Regions from separate parts of the Homo sapiens genome. Here region 2 is linked to region 1. The links are contacts of gene promoters, found by promoter capture Hi-C in blood cells and fetal thymus (Javierre and others, 2016). All regions are on one chromosome and are shown on one strand. Each heading gives the region's core, a stretch centred on a gene start or on the middle of the fragment in contact. The rest is flanking DNA. Distances are from core to core; before and after follow the strand shown.

The links. Contacts are between HindIII fragments. The CHiCAGO score rates a contact against its expected background, and 5 or more counts as called.
Region 2: a contact is called between a fragment that was not itself captured here and the fragment with the promoter of TLR8 in region 1, in 4 of 17 cell types (naive CD8 T cells, non-activated CD4 T cells, naive CD4 T cells and 1 more). The highest score is 8.5, in naive CD8 T cells.

Annotation. Positions count from the first base shown.
Region 1 is chrX:12,904,697-12,909,567 of GRCh38, reverse strand. TLR8 (toll like receptor 8) reads right to left here and starts at 2,948. Exons shown (of 2, transcript NM_138636.5): 1 at 2,859-2,948. The coding sequence starts at 2,861. It overlaps TLR8-AS1 (TLR8 antisense RNA 1), which reads left to right. Exons shown (of 5, transcript NR_030727.1): 3 at 1,235-1,352; 4 at 3,317-3,378. The HindIII fragment of the contact is 3,594 bases long and covers 2,833-4,871 here.
Region 2 is chrX:13,437,784-13,442,654 of GRCh38, reverse strand. No RefSeq gene overlaps it. Among named protein-coding and RNA genes, the nearest start is that of LINC01203, 100 kb to the right of the region's middle. The HindIII fragment of the contact is 1,947 bases long and covers 1,950-3,896 here.

The DNA of each region.
Region 1 (4,871 bases), core at 1,699-4,198:
TCCAGATTCTTTGTCATTCCTTAGAACCACAGGAAATCTACTGATTTTAGACATACACACCAACTAGCAGCTCTTTGTAACTTTCTGCAAAATCAACACAGCCTGTATCTGCTAATGCCAATCCAGAACCACAGGTTATGTATTTATATTACTGTGTCTTATAGCAGGGGTGTCCAATCTTTCAGCTTCTCTGGGCCACACTGGAAGAAGAAGAATTGTCTTGGGCCACACATAAAATACACTAACACTAACAGTAGCTGATGGGCTAAAAAACAAATGCATAATATTTTCAGAAAGTTTATGAATTTGTCTTGGGCTGCATTCAAAGCTGTCCTCGGCCATATGCAGCCCGCAGGCCGAGGGTTGGACAGGCTTGTCCTATGGTCTTGAGTAGTCCTAAATTGGGGCTACTAATTTAAAAATAACAAATCCCTCAACCCCATTTAATAACCCAGATGAACTCAGAGATGTTGCATTGGAATGACGTTCCCCTCAATGGAACCTGGAGGCGACACTATGATGCACTTACAAATAATGTCCAACTGCGTTTCAAAGACTAACTGTGGGTAATGACATCCTTCCCTGTGAAACACACCCTAATATTCTGTGAGTCTGGGGTCTTCCATAAGACTGCTTTCTCTTTCATAATCTCTGAGATTCTTAGATTATTATAATGAAAGGATGAGAAGCAGTGATTGAAAGAGGAGAATGAACTCCATCAACTGCCCTCACTCTTATCTGCAGTCTCAGCTTTTCAGAGAAAGCATACTTAGAACTTCTATTTTGCTTTCTAAAATCAAACCAAGGTGGCTGGTAAATACATTTCAGCTCTTCCTGGAGCATTTCTAGCCACCTAAAAAAACGGACTGTGCTTTTTAACAAAAGGACCAAAAAACTGTTGATGTTCTAAGGCACTGATTCTTAACTTTGGCTGCACAGTAGAGATACTTAGGAACTCTAAAAGCTACAAATGCCAAGCCCTGTATCCAGAGATTTTGGTTTCATTGATCTGGGGTTCAGTCTGGGCAGCAGGAGTTTTGAAAGCTCCCCCTCTGATTTGAGTCCATTGCGAAGGCTAACAACCTCTGCCTTTAGGCAGGAGGTCAGCCAGGTCCTTGACCTCCATTGGCCACCAGTGGGAGCAAAGTGGCCATTTTTTGCAAGTTTAATTTGATTTTATTATTACTCTATTTACCAATCTGTTGTTGTTGTTGTTGTTGTTGTTTTGAAACAGAGTCTTACTCCGTTGCCCAGGCTGGAGTACAATGGTGCGATCTTTGCTCACTGCAACATCCACCTCATGGGCTCAAGCGATTCTCCTGCCTCAGCCTCCTGAGTAGCTGGGACTACAGGTGCGTACCACCACACCTGGCTAATTTTTGTATTTTTAGTAGAGACGAGGTTTTGCCGTGTTGACCGGGCTGGTCTCTACCTACTGACCTCAAGTGATCCGCCCACGTCGGCTTCCCAAAGTGCTGGGATTATAGGCGTGAGCCACCGGGCCCCGGCTATTTACCACATTCTTACAGTACAATTATACTGGCTATCACAGCAGCTTACAAATATCAAGTAGGAATTGGATAATTTCAACTGCAATCCCATATGTGTCATTGGCCCAGTTGACCGAATTCCATATGGGCCACCTACAGTCATTTTGTAAAGCATTGTAAAATTTTAGTGCAGAATTAATTTACCTTCAAGATCCATAATGAACATTAGGTGGGTATAAAAATTAACTTCAGGCCGGGCGCGGTGGCTCATGCCTGTAATCCCAGCACTTTGGGAGGCTGAGACAGGCGGATCACCTGAGGTCAGGAGTTCGAGACCAGCCTGGCCAACATGGAGAAACCCCGTCTCTACTAAAAATACAAAAATTAGCCAGGCGTGGTGGCACACACCTGTAGTCCCAGCTACTTGGGAGGTTGAGGCAGGAGAATCGCTTGAACCCGGGAGGCGGAGGTTGCAGTGAGCTGAGATCACGCCACTGCACTCCAACCTGGGTGGCAGACCCATTAACTTCAAAAGACTTAAGTGTACTTTAAATTGTTGTCAAAATTAACTCCAAGGACTTTGGGGAAAAATATATAGTACATTTTGGATGAGACTCTCTTGAAATCAGACTTTTCAATTGCTCTTAAACCTCATTGAATTTTCTAGAAAATGTATCATTTAAAAAGAAGTGTAAAGTTCATTTTTAGTCTGACAGTTCTTGACAATAACAAAAACGGACCACCTGCTATGTCTTGACAGTGTAAAATAATAATTACAGAAATTGTAGCATGTTATTAGGTTGGTGGAAAAGTAATCACAGTTTTTTGTACCAACCTAATTATTTAAAACTCTGACCAAGAAAAGTAGCAATTAATGTCGAACTTTAAGCCTCCAACAGTAGGTTAAGCTCAGGCTTCACTAGGATCTAGCAATTGACCTATGTATGTGAAGGAAGAGAGTTTGTCCTTTTCTACAGAAATAGCAAAGGAAGAATATTTCCCTCACCTTCTCTTCCAACCCTGTTGTTCTGGAAGAGGATATTGTCTCTGGTAGGGCCAGTAAGTAATATTTCCAGTTCAATTTCTAACTTGAAATTTTCTTATTTTCCTGTCCAAATTAGTAAGATCATCACTGCATTTGATTTTCAAAATTTACTCTCTAATTCCTTTATACTAACGTGTGCACAAATTAAAGATCATAGCAAGCCGCTTTACCTGCATTTACAGTTGTTTCGATCTTTAATTTTTATCCTTATTTGCCCATTTATTACTTTCTAGGCTCACACCATTTGCCACCAACCCAGATTTCTGGGTCAGAAACCCCATATTCTGTTGGAAAGCTTTGCTAAAGAAATAGAAGTGGCTTACCATGTTTCTGTTGTTCTAATTTTTCATTCCGTAACTTGCAGCAGCGCAGAATGGTACCCTCTATGCAGGAGGTGGCCGAGAAGAGAAACTGGCTAACTTCCTGAAATGGCTCTATTTACCATCAGCAGAACGTAGCGTGTGTTTTACAGAAGTTTACATGAAAAGAAGGGAACTTGTGATTTCTTAGCTGTTGCCAAATCATTAATTGACTGTGCTTTAAAACTTTGAAACTGAAGTTATGGGAAAAAGTCATTTATGAAATGATTTAAATACAACCCAAATCAGACACACACGACGTATTTTTGTTAGTTTTTGTGTATTTGTGTGTACAGGGGAGAAAAAGGGAACATTATTCCATTCACTAAGAAAACTTCAGTGTATTCTTTTTTAAAAAAGTTACCATAAATTTGTACTGAACTTCGGATTTCTCAAACTCGTCTTCCTTGTGTAATTCACAGATGTAGGCGAATAACATGAACATTGCTTCATCTTTGTTCCACAAGTTTCTGAGACAGCACCGGTAGGTATGGGTCTCCCTCCCACTGGGCTGTGGCCGCAAAGCGAGCATCTTTCTCCTGGGCGCCCCATGCCTCCTCCAGCACCTGGCATGTAGTATAAGCTCAATGAGTGTTCATTGTATGAACGAGTGAGTCAATGGCTGAGCATTCGTGAGGCTGGAAAATTTAATCTTCCCGATTTAGTCTGATAAATGGATTCCATTTTATGCTCGGAGAGCAAGGGCCTCAAAAGGTGTAACCAAGAGCAGAGGTCAGCAAACTGCAGCCTTTGAACGAAATCCGGCCCAGAAGTGAAAACATTTTTAGATGAACATTGGCAATGGATTTGCTGATACAGAACACTAACTTTAAATTCCAACCAAGCAGAATGTTAGCACCTCCAAAAATGATTCCATTCTTCTCATTATTAAACCTATACTACAAAAAAACTGCCTTCGATTATTATTATTACATTTTGAGTTTCATCAATTACATAATTGTGGAAATTTTTATTTTACTATATAAGTAGCTACATAATATGCCAAATTTGCTTCTTGGCCTGTAAAACCTAAGATATTTGCCATCTGGCCCTTTACAGAAAAAGTTTGCTGACCCCTGGCCACAAGAATAAAGTTTAGAACGGGATGTGATATGTTTCATCTTGCCTTACACCCCAGGAGTGGGAGAAAACCAAATTGGCAGCAGGGTGGGCAGAGATGACATCCATATATAAATGGACTGTGGAACACCTTGTTATGAAGGAAGGCCTGTCAGCAGTCAAAGAATGGCTTGGGTGGGTATACCTAGATGGACCTCTAAAGATCACACCCTAAGGGAATTCAAGACCTGGTGCATGGTTTGAGAGGTGATTCCTGTGACATCAGAGAGTGCAGCCTGGGCCTTCATGGGCAAACCAAAAACATTTGTGATTGTAAACCCAAAGGCCTCGGCTGGCCGCATCCAAGTCTCTTGGTTTCCCTCCAAACATTTGCTTGGAAATAAAGTAAAGAAAGTAAGTAAGAATGGATCGAGTGCAGTGGCTCACACCTGTAATTCCAGCACTTTGTAGAGGCCGAGGCAGGAGGATCACTTGTGCTCAGGGGTTTGAGACCAACCCGGGCAACATGGCAAAACCTTGTCTCTAAAAAAATACAAAAATTAGCCAGGCATGGTGGTGTGCACCTGTAGTCCCAGTTACTCGGGTGGCTGAGGTGGGAGGATCGCTTGAGCCCAGGAGGTGGAGATTGCAGTGAGCCATGATAGTGCCACTGCACTCTAGCCTGGGTGACAGAATGAGACTTTGTCTAAAAAAACAAACAAACAAACAAACAAAAAACAGCGAAGTAAAAATGACTTCCAGCCGTTGACTGAGCAAGGATCCTTGGAACTGGAGAGTTTGTCAGCTTTCTAGAAAAGCGAGACTCACATACCCTGGCTTCTAGGCCACCAAGTGTCAGCCAATTGTAGACCAGTCAATTGGCCTTGTAAAGCATGCTTGTATACGTATATATATATA
Region 2 (4,871 bases), core at 1,674-4,173, 530 kb before region 1:
ACTGCCTGATTCATGAATCACTAATAAAAACCAATTAGACCATTAAACTCAATTTGTTGAAATTTTGTTTTTTGACAGTTAATACGACTCTTCTGAGAGTCCACTGAAAACCAAAATGTTAAACTCTTTATGGCAGATTTGTGCATCCCATTTGGGCATCCCAGTCCCCAGCCCAGTATCTCAATCTTTTCCTTCCATCTTCAGAGAGTTTCCTTTCCTTACTGTATGAATCTCAAACACCCCTATTCCAAGGTAACTCCTCTCTTACTTACTGTATGAATCTCGACCACCCGTATTCCAAGGTAACTCCTTTCTTAATTCATAAGGTTTGGTTTAATTTTACAATCCGTTGTTATTTCCCACCTGGGTAGCCCATAGATAAAATATGCTAAACCAAAATAGTTCCCCCAAGTCTGACCTTCTCAGTTTAAATAACACTAGAGGAGGGTACAGGGCTTTAGTAGAACAGTCCAGAATGGATGGACTTTAGCACTCATTTGACACTCTTCCCTAGGATGAGGTAAAAATACATTTCCACAGACTTACTTATGGCCCCCTGTGTATTGCTCTTGAACAAAACATGTTTCCCAAGGATAAACAAAGTATATCATAGACATTATACTTCAGATACATTTTAAGAAAGAAAAACATTTTCTCAGAGTCAATACAGTCCACAGGATTTTCCTTGCCCTCAATGGTGACAGACTGATATGGTTTGACTGTGTCCCCACCCAAATCTCATCTTGAATTGTAGTTCCCATAATCCCCACATGTGGTGGGAGGGACCCAGTGGGAGGTAACTGAATCATCGGGGCAGTCTCCCTTACGCTATTCTCATGATAGTAAGTTCTCATGGGATCTGATGGTTTTATAAGGGACTTCCCCCTTCGCTCGGCTCTCATTTTTCTTCTTCTTGCCGCTATGATTATAAGTTTCCTGAGGCCTCCCCAGCCATGCTGAACTGTGAGTCAATTAAGCCTCTTTCTTTTATAAATTACCCAGTCTTGGGTAAGTCTTTATTAGCAGCATGAGAACAGACTAGTACACAGACTTTTACTTTATTAATCAGAACAATTTTGTTTCTCACATGTAGGTTCTAGGGTTACACTTTGCATAGCCAGGTGTTGCTATAAATAAAATAGCCTCCAACACCAAGTGTTGACTCCCCAGCAGCAGAAAAAATCAGTAGAAGCTGTGAAATTAAAAAAATTTTAAACATGATCAAGAATTTTTAGCTAAGATTTCCTTCCTGACACATCTTTATAGGTAAAAGGGTGACATTACAAAGATTGATCCTCCCTAGTCCAGACCAAGTCACCAGGGAATGTGGATTTGTTCCTCTCCCACTTAGAGTTTTCACTAAACCATACCAAAGTCATGCTATGTATATAAAATGTTCATATTTCATCTTGTTATAATTACCTTTCAATCAGCAAAAGAAACTGCTATTGTCTGAATGTTAATGTTCCCCCCACCCCCTGCAAATTCAAATGTTGGAATCTAATACCCGATGTGATAGTATTAGGAGGTGGGGCCTTTGGGAGGTGATCAGGTCATCAGGGCTCTGCCCTTATGGATGGGATTAGTGCCCTTATAAGAGAGGCTAGAGGGAGCCCATTTGCCTCTGTAAGGTGCCCTTTAGGAGGAACAGGCCTCCACCAGATACTGAATCTGCTGGCACCTTGATCTTGAACTTCTCAGCCTCCAGAACTGTGAACAATAAATTTCTGTTGTTTATAAATTACCCAGTCTAAGGTATATTGTTATAACAACCTGAATGGACGAAAACAGAAACTATCTTAGTAAAGATGTTAATAATTTGTTTAATTTTCTTTCCCTTCCTTCATCAATAGGAAATCAGTATGGAGTCTCTATTTTGCTAGGGCCCATAATCTTACAGTATGCTAGGCCAATTTGAATCTTAAAAAGTGGTAAGTGGGTTTTAAGCTTTCTTCCTACTGAGCATTTCAAACATACCAGAATAAAACAGAGTACTTTCAGAGCAAGTTAGCCAATAATTGTCTAGAATCTTTTTTCACACAAGGAAGAAAGCAAATCTGTCATAATTACATAGAAAAAAATGCAGAGATGAATTTCTACTCTCTAGTAACTCTTCCTTCTGAAGCAAGCAGTGCCATTCAGTAATTGTATGAGTGTTGCAGTTGTACTACTTTTGTAGTGCATTTGAGCTTTCTCATTTATATTAATCCTTAGCATGATGGTAAGACTCAGCGACATCTGGCCCATATTTCCTTGTTGTTTTGCTCTATAGGTTCACACCACATTAACCGTTCAGTTCCTTAGTCATTCCTTTCTCCTGCCTGCTGCAGGGCCTAAGTACAGTCTTCCCACTGCTGGGAATTCCCTGGTCTAGGTCAGCTCCACAAAATAATTTTGCTTTCTTCTTGTTCAGTTTGCAATTATACACAGATTTGTGTATTTAATTAGTTAATGTTTAGATCCCTCATGATATTGTAAATTCCATGAGAGCAGGGACCAGGTTTATATTTTTATTCTTTTTATCAACACATTCATAGTAGGTGCTGAAGAAATACAGCATAAATGACTGATTGAATGAATGAATGACTGTTGATTTGGGGGATGGATTTTTGCATCGGACTACAAATTATGTACGATAAAACTAAATAACAGCAGAGAGGATATAATGAGGACAAAAGGAACAGAATAATGAGGACAAAAGGAACAGAAAAGTGTTAAAAATTCTTGCAAAGGAAAAGGAATAAAGGCACGGTAACAGCAAGAGATGGGCTAAAATGAATCAGAGAAAGAATGAAGGAGCATTGATAAGCAAGAGACCCTTGACTTTTTGAGCTATTTTATAAGTTGTTACCAGGTGAGATTAAACCAAGTCCAGAGAATTAGGGAGCTTCCAGCAAGGCAGTTTCAGCCTGGATTATGTGGTGTTGTCTATGACCCGCTAGAAAGAGACTAGAGTTTCTCGTCCTTAGGGATGAGGTGGAGTGAAATGAAGATGAGCCAGGTCAAGGCTGGCTTTGTAAGTCATTCAACGAACATTTATTGAGTGTCTTCAGGGCATTGTATGACATTCTCTAGTGAAAGATAAATGAATGAAGAAGTGGTCTCTGCCTTGGGAAATTTATATCCTAGTCCAGGAAAGGAAAAAACTATGGAACACACACACACACACACACACACACACATTAGTACACATATACACATATAAGCACATATAAAACACAAATATTTATAATGCACCTTAGTGTTGGAGTTAAATATGCTAAAAGTGCTTTTAAGCTCTAAGGAGAGAGGGTTCAGTCCTTTGGTGCAGTGGGGTGGAACTCTTAAAGTTTTCCCACACATTTGGTTCTGAAACAATGCTATTTGCATGAACAACCCTAGTGTCAACATGAGGAAGTCTGCTAATCTTTCAGCTTGCATCGTATGGTTGAAGTGAAAATGCCCACATAATTTTGGAAGCCCAGCATCCCTCCTTTCTGGTGCTTAGGCCTCTGCTGAATCCTTGACCTCCCTCTGTTATTCATCCCTGTTCATGACTACTCATTTCTGAATTCAGTGGTCCTGTTCCCTTCCCCATCCAAGTGCTCCCAAGTCAAGGATCTGTTTATAATAGATTTTACTGAATGCTATAGGCAATGGCTGTGTGTGTGTGTGTGTGTGTGTGTGTGTGTGTGTGTGTGTGTGTTGGTTACATCACAGACCAGTAGAGCAAACAACTTAAAATGTAATATTAGAACACCTCATCCTTAAAACTCCTATCCTCTACTTGGCACCAAGGAGCCATCACCAACCAGCACTTTACCCCACTTCTAGCCTCCTGCTATGTTTCTGGGCCCTCTCTCAAGAATTTCTAGATGACTTTCTTTTTCCTCTCAGCTTGTAGGCACCCCGAAGCTTTAAACATCCTGAGTAATTTATCTTATCATCTTATCCCAAACCATTTTGACTTTTATTCCCAGAGACTTTTGCTTAATAGCCAATTATGCCTACTTAGGGGTTAGCTTAAATTGCGCTGTCTCTGGAGTGAAATCTTACGGTCAGGCTTTAAAGTAACACTTGTTTTTTTAGTTCACACTTCGAATTGCTTGCCAAATGCTATACAACGTCAAGTACAGTTTTCAAAAAAGTTAAAAACATGGTCTCATATAAATATTTAACAAATATGTGTCAGAGATGTATTTAATTCCCTAGTGAGGGAACCAACAGGTTCAAGGACAAAAGGAAATGGTAAATGAATAAATGAATGACTACATATCTTCATCTAAAAGAGAACACTGGAATAAGATTGCAAATTAAAATACAAAATTGATTAACCACTTCCTACAGGGGAATAAAACTGTAGCCTTTGGGGTTATCATTTATACCCAATAGAAATCATATTTGCATTTTGTCTGTCTTCTAAAAATTAATATCTAACTTTACACAATCTTTGGGCCTGTTAAAGGATAATTTTTTAAGGGTAAAACCATGACTTTTGAACAAATACAAAATAAACTAATTAACTAGTGAGGGAATAAATTAGATGTCGTAAGAAGTTCAAAGGAGAATTTAAAGAACACAAAGATATACTGGTAACCAGGAATACTGAGATGAATATATAAACTGATGCAAAACATATCAATATCCATAAGGCAATGATCAATTAAATTGCCTGGACAGTTTTATTTGCATTTCCATGAACAAGCGTAATTTGGATTATTATCAGTTTTCTACAATGCGCAGAGTTGTAAAGTAGTTCAAAGACAATGAAAGGCACATATAGCCTGGAAGAATAAGCTAGACAGTACATCCAGAAATCTTTCTTTGTCCATTTCAAAGTCTTTCCCATTTTTCCTGACAGATTCTAATCAATAGTAAGTAGTATGTCAACC